Regions from separate parts of the Homo sapiens genome. Here region 2 is linked to region 1. The links are contacts of gene promoters, found by promoter capture Hi-C in human tissues and cell types (Jung and others, 2019). All regions are on one chromosome and are shown on one strand. Each heading gives the region's core, a stretch centred on a gene start or on the middle of the fragment in contact. The rest is flanking DNA. Distances are from core to core; before and after follow the strand shown.

The links. The method cuts DNA at HindIII sites, captures the fragments that hold promoters and counts their contacts. A contact is called where the count stands out against the background at its distance.
Region 2: a fragment that was not itself captured here is called in contact with the fragment with the promoter of FERD3L in region 1 in 2 of the 25 tissues and cell types used here (neural progenitor cells and thymus).

The regions. Positions count from the first base shown.
Region 1 is chr7:19,143,999-19,148,955 of GRCh38, forward strand. It overlaps FERD3L (Fer3 like bHLH transcription factor), which reads right to left and starts at 1,423. Exons shown (of 1, transcript NM_152898.2): 1 at 784-1,423. The coding sequence starts at 1,364. The coding sequence ends at 864. RefSeq lists enhancers at 156-1,355, 1,821-2,469. The HindIII fragment of the contact is 11,409 bases long and covers 1-4,957 here.
Region 2 is chr7:19,227,726-19,232,817 of GRCh38, forward strand. No RefSeq gene overlaps it. Among named protein-coding and RNA genes, the nearest start is that of FERD3L, 85 kb to the left of the region's middle. The HindIII fragment of the contact is 5,574 bases long and covers 1-4,903 here.

The DNA.
Region 1 (4,957 bases), core at 173-2,672:
CACTGGAACACGGAAGCTGATGCTGCACTTTAGATGCAAAGCGTAGATTTGCACTCTGGCTAAGGCACTGAATGAACACCACTGTGGCCCTGGGACAAGGAGCTGTGGTCCGTCTGGGATCAACTAGGTGGCGAAGGGGAGGGAGAAAGGAAGAGAGAGGGCTTGCGCGCGGGAGAGAGGAAGGGACGGGAGGGAGAGGGAATGGAAGACAGGAAGGGTGTCCCTTCTCAGAGGTCGCACTTTGTCAGCAGTTCCTCTCGACTGCTCTGCCTTCCATTTTTCCTTTCCTCAGTTCCTGGACAAGCCTCGGAGGACCAGGCAGAACCCTCTGGCTAGCAGAAAAGCTCGCACCCCCGCACCCTTGCGGCGTCTGCTTCAGACCCTCCACGCAGGCGCCCGCTGGAGCGCCTGCTGGGGATGGCGTACCACCGACCCTTCAGGCTTTTTAAAAACGTAAGAATTTCTACTTTATTATCTCTATGAAAAAAAAAATGTAAAGAAGAGAGGTTAGATTTTATAGAAGCTCCAAAGTCTGCCATTTGCGAGGAGGGTTCACTTCCCACCCACCCAGCCCACGGAAGCTCTTAGGAGCAGCCTGAACGGCCCCGACTCAGCCTCACGCTCTCTGACTTCCCCGCTCGCCCCTGACCCCGACTTCACTTAGGGCGGTCGCGTAGATATGAACTCTACAGCAGCCACTCTGCTCAGCGCATGTGGGGATCTTACAATCTCGACCCCGACCTCCAGAAGACCAGACGTTCTGTCTTGGGGCCTCCCTCCCGGCCCTTTAGCCTCACCCAGTGCCCGGTCCTGACACACCCCAGCACTACCAGACGAGGAAGGGCAGACTCTCCACACCAGGCTCAGCCGCTTTCCTTCTTCTCACAGCTCTCCAAGAGCTCGGTCATGAAGGAGATATAGACGATGGCCAGGCGGAGGGTCTCGATCCGGGACAGCCTTTTCTCGTAAGCAAACGTGGGCACCTTCCTCCGCAGCTGGTCAAAGGCCTCGTTGAGGTTGAACATCCGCTTCCTTTCGCGGATGTTGGCGGCCTGGCGCTGGGCGTAGGTGATCACCCTTTTCCTCTTGGGGCGGCCTAATAGGGAGACACCTCTTCCGCGCTCCTCTTCCTCCTCCTCTTCTCCGTCCCCCTGGTCCACTTCGCACTCCTCTTCTTCTGGGTCCCCCTCTTCAAACCGCGCCATCCTCCTGGGTCTTCCCTCTCGGAGCGCAAGGGCTGGGTCCCCCAAGGAGACCCCGGGTGCGAAGTCGCAGAGGAGAGGGCGTCTCGGGGAGGCCAGGGACAGGTCTGCGACGAAGTCCAGCACCGTAGTGTCCACGCAGCTCTCCGGATAGGCCGCCATCGCTTCGGCTTGGCCCTGCCTCTCATCGGTTTTCCGCAGGGAGGGGCGAGGTTGCTGGTGGGGATTCTTAACAGCCTTGAATCTGATGGGGCACCATCACCGAAAGGCCAGGGAACATTAAATATTTATAACCAAGCTGATAACAGGATTAGTCGCACCGATAAGGAATGCTCTGACAACGTCCCTTCTCTCGAAGCTTATGGAAGATGACAAGCTTGAGCACGCATGGAAGACTCAAAGGGACAGGGCTCCAGTTCTGAGATCCTTTTCTCTGCGCCACCCGGGACAGTTCCTTGTTGGCAACAACCCCCAGCTCTTACCTGCTGTGCTTTTTGTGTCTGTCTTCACCCCTGCAGCCAACTAATGTTCTCCAGGCTCCTTATCTCGTGTAGTTCTTTAATTTCGTGTTGGATTTTCAAAGCGAGGATGTTTTCCACCGCGATGGCTTCTCCTTGACTTCAGGGTAGGAGTCTTGAATCTTGCCACCATCTGCCAATGGATGTGGAGCAAGTGCATGTGCTTTTAATGATGTCCTGAAGAGGGGCCCTGCCTGCCTGGCATCAAGGGGAGCTGTTTGTCTGGTATCCCAGTGCAGCGGCTGCTGAAAGGCAAGACCTTCAATTAGCTTAAGTAAGCATGGCAGGGGGACCGAGAGTGCATTCCCCAGAGTCGCTGTTGGAACCGGCTTTCTTTTCTTTCCAGGGCATCGCAAACAGCTCTCCTGCCACGTTACAAACCCTGACTTCTAAAGTCTGTTTGGATGCAATCAGCGTAACAATTGAGATACTTGACTTTCCTTTCCCTACCTTTACCTCCTACTCATATAAAATAGAGGATTTTATTCCAAGAGGAAAAGTTATGATGGCAATAAAATGAGAAATTTAAGCTCAGGATATTTTCTATGCTCGGGCTTTGCTGTATACTTTTCAGTGTGGGGGACAAAGCAAACTCTCCTCACAAACAAAACCACTTCAAGCTCTTTTCAGAAATGCGATTTGCCCTTGATAAGCCAAAGAGTCAATCAGCTCACCCTCTGCTGAGGAGTCTTCGGACTTTTAAATTGCGGATCGAGTATTTGTTCCCGAACAAAGAAAAAAACCTAACACTTCCATCTGGCGTATTTTCCTCATTGATTTGTATTGTCCTACAGTAAGACTTAAGTGCAGAAACAATGATTTATTGAAATATATTTAAGGGAGTTTTTGGCTATCGTTAGATCGTTATTTTTGAGAAAAGAAAGAGATTTTAAATTTGGCATAAGAAAAATAAGAGATTACTCATTTTATATTATCTCGAGTATCCCAAATATTTTAACAAAAAGGTTCTTTTTCTTTGTTTGCCAATAACTATATTTACTTAATTATTCAGTACTGTGTAAAGATTTATTTAAAAGACCCATTGTGTCAAAGTGACAGATTAGAAGATAATTTTAAAGGTAGATTGGAAGAAATAGCCTAAAAAGATGAATGTAGAAACATCCCGGTTCAAAAGAGAACTGCCCAGGACGTCAGTCCCTATTAAGGGGGTAAGTTGTGGTTATGATGGTTCACTCAGTACATTGGACAGCTCCCAGAAACCAGAAACCGCCTATTTCTAACAGGTAATCTCAATTCATTTTCTTCTTCCTAGCCTCTATGTGTGTAATCAAAACAGTATAACCTTTAATTCTTCTTCTTCTTTTAACCCATTTGTGTCTGGTGTCTCTCGATCTTTTAATAGATTTTATCTTCTTTTGCTTGTGTTTACTCTTCATTCTCCAGTTTGAATTGTGATAACTCAGGCAGAGAATAATTGAAATTTGTGATCCTGGAAGATGTTAAAGAGAATGAGATCTTTGGTTGTTACTTAGTTGATTTTTGCTAAGCATCTTTCAAAGGGAAGGCTGAAAAATAAATAATAGGATTGTCAACAGTGGCTATGAAGCTAGTAAATGGGAGAACTGATTTTTGTTTCAAAAAAGTAGTAACATGCTTGCTAACCCTCGTTTAAATTAATATGTTATTAAATATTTGGACAAATTTCTTGTTGATTTTTAAATTATGTTAAATGCTTCTCAGTGACTTATTTTGTATTCATTTACAATCTATTTGCAAGTGGATTAAACACCTCAGTCAATTGAGAATCTAGTTTCGCAATATAATACACTGGAAAACAATGAAGGAAAACATGGTTGATATTTAAATTTAAAATTTCATAAAATGGGGGTCAGAAGCCTTCATGAGACTAAAGAGATAGTTTCATTGGACTGAACTCCTTTATGATTTTAGCCAAGGCAATGTACCTTTCTTGCTTGCCTTCCTTCCTTCCTTCCTTCCTTCTTTCTTTCCTTCCTTCCTCTCTCCCTCCCTCCCCCTTACTCCTTTTTCTTTCTTTCTTTCTTTCTTTCTTTCTTTCTTTCTTTCTTTCTTTCTTTCTTTCTTTCTTTCTTTCTTTTTCTTTCTTTCTTCTTTCTTTCTCTTTCTTTCTTTCTTTCTTCTTTCTCTCTTTCTTTCTTTCTTTCTTTTTCTTTCCTCCTTCTCTCTTTCAACAGAGCCTCACTCAGTCATCGAGGCTGGAGCGCAGTGCTACAATCATAGCTTACTGTGCCTCAAACTCCTGGGCCCAAGCAACTCTCCTGCCTCAGCCTCCCGAGTACCTAGGACTGCAGGCACTGGCCACCTCATCAAGCTAAAGGTTTTGTTCTTTAGAGAGGAGGTCTAACTATTTTGCTCAGGCCTCAACCAGTCCTCTCACCTTGACCTCCCAAAGTGCTGAGATTACTGGCCTGAGCCACTGCAGCTGGCAGAGAATGGAGATTTCAATAATCATATCACAAAAGGAACTGTAGCAAAAGTAATGGAACCAGTGCCTAGAACTGGGTTGAAATACTTGTATTAAAGTATTAGGAATTTTTTAAATGTCCTAATAGGTACACCTACAGCAATTATTTTAAAATATTTTCTTTTTTATTTCATCATAAAAATCCCAGGATAAACACTTCTGTTTATACCACCTTAATTTCTGTTTATCTTACAAGGTTATAATCATGCTAATATAATTAAAGCAAAAAATGTTAAAATCTAAGTTATGAGTGTTTTTATTTATAATTATAATTAGTTATATAAATTAACAGTTACAGTTATTTCATTTATAATTATAATTAATTATAGGAATAACTGAAATTCTTTTTCTCTGCTTATTGTGAAATGGTCATTTTATTTTTAGAAGACTTTTGTGGGTATTTGGTTCCACAGTAAATATATATGGCAAAAGCAGTAAATTTATAAAGTACCAAGTGATGTTACAGTTCATCCTATTGGAAGGAATCATTATTTTCATTTCTAGATTTGAAAGTTAAGAGAGAGATGTTTTTTAAAAACTCAATTGAGGATTAAAAGAAGCTAAGTTCAACCTTGATTCCTCTGTGTTCTAGGCCTATAGTTTACAGTTATTCAGTGACCTATAGGGAGGCATTTATAAAAAGTTTGATAACTCCTCACAAATTTTACTCAAAATATTTCAAGAAATGATTATGAAATGACAATCAGTTTTGCTTATTTGATTATCTAGTTTATTTCTATTGACCATTCCTATTAGACATAAAACATTTTGTT
Region 2 (5,092 bases), core at 867-3,366, 84 kb after region 1:
AGTGGACCTCCAGCAAACTCCAGTAGACCTGCAGCAGAGGGGCCTGACTGTTAGAAGGAAAACTAACAAACAGAAAGGAATAGCATCAACATCAACAAAAAGGAAGTCCACACAAAATCCCCATCCAAAGGTCGCCAGCATCAAAGACCAAAAGTAGATAAATCCATGAAGATGAGGAAAAACCAGTGCAAAAAGGCTGAAAATTAAAAAAACAAGAACATCTCTTCTCCTCCAAAGGATCACAACTCCTTGCCAGCAAGGGAGCAAAACTGGATGGAGAATGAGTTTGGCAAATTGACAAAAGTAGGCTTCAGAAGGTGGGTAATAACAAAGTCCTCCGAGCTAAAGGAGCATGTTTGAACCCAATGCAAGGAAGCTAAGAACCTTGAAAAAAGGGTTAGAGGAATTGCTAACAAGAATAACCAGGTTAGAGAAGAACACAAATGACCTAATGGAGGTGAAAAACACAGCATGAGAAGTTCATGAAGAATACCCAAATATCAATAGCCAAATCAATCAAGCAGAAGAAAGGATATCAAAGATTGAAGATTAACTTAATGAAATAAAGCATGAAGACAAGATGAGAGAAAAAAGAATGAAAAGGAACAAACAAAGCCTCCAATAAATATGGGGCTATGTGAAAAGACCAAACCTACGTTTGATTGGTGTACCTGAAAGTGACAGGGAGAATGGAACCAAGTTGGAAAACACTCTGCAGGATATTATCCAGGAGAACTTCCCCAACTTAGCAAGACAGGCCAACACTCAAATTCAAGAAATACAGAGAATACCACAAAGATACTCCTCAAGAAGAGCAACCCCAAAACACATAATCATCAGATTCACCAAGGTTGAAATGAAGGGAAAAATATTAAGGGCAGCCAGAGAGAAAGGTCAGGTTACCCACAAAGGGAAGCACATCAGACTAACAACAGATCTCTCTGCAGAAACTCTACAAGTCAGAAGAGATTGGGGGCCAATATTCAAAACTCTTAAAGAAAAGAATTTTCAGCCCAGAGTTTTATATCCAGCCAAACTAAGCTTCATAAGCAAAGGAGAAATAAAATCCTTTACAGACAAGCAAATGCTGAGAGATTTTGTCACCACCAGGCCTGCTTACAAGAGCTCCTAAAGGAAGCACTAAACATGGAAAGGAAAAACTGGTACCAGCCACTGCAGAAACATACCAAATTGTAAAGAACATTGATGCTATGATGAAACTGCATCAACTAGTGGGCAAAATAATGAGCTAGCGTCATAATGACAGGATAAAATTCACACATAACAATATTAACCTTAAATGTAAATGGGCTAAATGCCCCAATTAAAAGACACAGACTGGAAAATTGGACAAAGAGTCAAGACCCATTGGTGTGCTGTATTCAGGAGACCCATCTCATGTGCAAAGACATACATAGGCTCAAAATAAAGGGATGGAATAATATTTACCAAGCAAATGGGAAACAAACAAAAAAAAACCCCAGGGGTTGCAGTCCTAGTCTCTGATAAAACAGACTTTAAACCAACAAAGATCAAAAAAGACAAAGAAGGCCATTACATAATGGTAAAGGGATCAATGCAACAAGAAGAGCTAACTATCCTAAATATATATGCATCCCTTACAGGAGCAACCGGATTCATAAAGGAAGTTCTTAGAGACCTACAAACAGACTTACACTTACACAATAATAGTGGGAGATGTTAACACCCCACTGTCGATATTAGACAGATCAATGAGACAGAAAATTAACAAGGACATTCAGGACTCGAGCTCAGCTCTGGACCAGGCTGACCTAATAGACATCTACAGAACTCTCCACTCCAAATCAACAGAATATACATTCTTCTCAGCAACACATTGCACTTATTCTAAAATTGATCACATAATTGGAAGTAAAACACTCCTCAGCAAATGCACAAGAATGTAAACCATAACAGTCTCTCAGACCACAGTGCAATCAAATTTGAACTCAGGATTAAGAAACTCACTGAAAATCACACAACTACATGGAAACTGAACATCCTGCTCCGGAATGACTACTGGGTAAATAACAAAATTAAGGCAGAAACAAATAAGTTATTTGAAACCAATGACAACAAAGGCACAATGTACCAGAATCTCTGGGATACAGCTAAAGCACTGTTTATAGAGGGAAATGTATGGCAATAAGTGCCCACAGGAGAAAGCAGGAAAGATCTAAAATCGACACCCAAACATAACAATGAAAAGAACTAGAGAAGCGGGAGGAAACAAATTCAAAAGCTAGCAGAAGACAAGAGATAACTAGGATCAGAGCAGAACTGAGGGAGATAGAGACACGGAAAACCCTTCAAAAAATCAGTGAATCCAGGAGTTGGTTTTCTGAAAAGATCAACAAAATAGACCGCTAGCCAGACTAACAAAGAAGAAGAGAGAGAAGAATAAAAAAGACACAATAAAAAATGATAAAGGGGATATCACCACTGATCCCAGAGAAATACAAACTACCATCAAAGAATACTATAAACACCTCTATGCAAATAAACTAGAAAATCTAGACGAAATGGATAAATTCCTGGATACATACACCCTCCCAAGACTAAACCAGGAAGAAGTCGAATCCCTGAATAGAACAATAACAAGTTCTGAAATTGAGGCAGTAATTAATAGCCTACCAATCAAAAAAAAGCCCAGGACAAGACAGATTCACAGCTGAATTCTACCAGAGGTACAAAGAGGAGCTGGTACCATTCCTTCTGAAACTATCTTTCAATCAATAGAAAAAGAGGGTCTCCTCCCTAACTCATTTTATGAGGCCAGCATCATCCTGATACCAAAACCTGGCAGAGACACAACAAAAAAAAAGAAAATTTCAGACCAATATCCATGATGAACATCGATGCAAAAATCCTCAATAAAATACTGGCAAACTGAATCCAGCAGCACATCAAAAAGCTTATCCACCATGATCAAGTTGGCTTCATGCCTTGGATGCAAGGCTGGTTCAACATACGCAAATCAATAAATGTAATCAATTGCATAAACAGAACCAATGACAAAAACCACATGATTATCTCAATTGACACAGAATAGGCCTTAGAAAAAATTCAACAGCCTGTCATGCTAAAAACTCTCAATAAACTAGGTATTCATGGAACGTATCTCAAAACAATAAGAGCTATTTATGACAAACCCACAGCCGAATGGGCAAAAACTGGAAGCATTCCCTTTGAAAACTGGCACAAGACAAGGATACCCTCTCTCACCACTTGTATTCAACATAGTATTGTAAGTTCTGGCCAGGGCAATGAGGCAAGAGAAAGAAATAAAGGGTGTTCAAATAGGAAGAGAAGAAGTCAAATTGTCTCTGTTTTCAGATGACATGATTGTATATTTAGAAAATCCCATTGTCTCTTCCCAAAATCTCCTTAAGCTGTTAAACAACTTCAGCAAAGTCTCAGGATACAAAATCAATGTGCAAAAATTGCACGCACTCCTATACATCAATAATAGAGAGCCAAATCATGCGTGAACTCCCATTCACAATTGCTTCTACAAAGAGAATAAAATACATAGGAATACAACCCACAAGGGATGTGAAGGACCTCTTCAAGGAGATCTACAAATCACTGCTCAAGGAAATAAGAGAGGACAGAAACAAATGGGAAAACATTACATGCTCATGGATAGGAAGAATCAATATCATGAAAATGGCTATACTGCCCAAAGTAATTTATAGATTCAATGCTATCCCATCAAGCTACCATTGACTTTCTTCACAGAATTAGAAAATAACTACTTTAAATTTCATATGGAACCAAAAAAGAGCCAGGGTAGCCAAGACAGTCCTAGGCGAAAAGAACAAAATTGAAGGCAGCACGCAACCTTACTTCAAACTGTACTACAAGGCTACAGTAACCAAAACAGCATGGCACTGGTACCAAAACAGCTATATAGACCAATGGAATAGAACAGAGGCCTCAGAAATAACACCACACATCTACAACAATCTGGTCTTTGACAAACCTGGCAAAAACAAACAATGGGGAAAGGATTCCCTATTTAATAAATGGTGTTTGGAAAACTGGTTAGCCATATGCAGAAAACTGAAAAGGGACCCCGTTCATTACACCTTATACAAAAATTAACTCAAGACAGATTAAGGACTTAAACGTAAGACCTAAAACCATAAAAACCCTAGAAGAAAACCTAGGCAATACCATTCAGGACGTAGGCATGGGCAAGGACTTCATTGCTAAAACACCAAAAGCAATGGCAACAAAAGCCAAAATAGACAAATGAGATCTAATTAAACTAAAGGGCTTCTGCACAGCAAAAGTAACTATTATCAGAGTGAACAGGCAACCTACAGAATGGGAGAAAATTTTTGCAATCTAACTCTCTGACAAAGGACTGATACCAGAATCTACAAAGAACTTAAACAATTTTACAAGAAAAAAACAAACAATTCCATCAAAAAGTGGGCGAAGGCTACGAACAGACACTTCTCAAAAGGAGACATTTATGCGGCCAACAAAGATATGAAAAAAAGCTCATCATCACTGGTCATTAGAGAAATGAAAATCAAATCCATGATGAGATACCATCTCATGCCAATTAGAATGGCAATCATTAAAAAGTCAGGAAAGAACAGAGGACTGGAGAGGACGTGGAGAAATAGGAATGCTTTTACACTGTTGGGGGGGAATGTAAATTAGTTCAACCATTGTGGAAGACAGTGTGGCGATTCCTCAAGTATCTAGAACTAGAAATACCATTTGACCCAGCAATCCCATTACTGGGTATATACCCAAGTATATACTGGGTATAATACCCAAAGAATTATAAATCATTCTAATCTAAAGACACATGCACACGTATGTTTATTGCAGCACTGTTCACAATAGCAAAGACTTGGAATCAACCCAGATGTCCATCAGTGATACACTGGATAAAGAAAATGTAGCACATATACACCATAGAATACTATGCAGACATAAAAAAGGATGCATTCATGTCCTTTGAAACACATGGATGAAGCCAGAAACCATGATTCTCAGCAAACTATCACAAGAACAGAAAACCAAACACCGCATGTGGGAGTTGAATAAT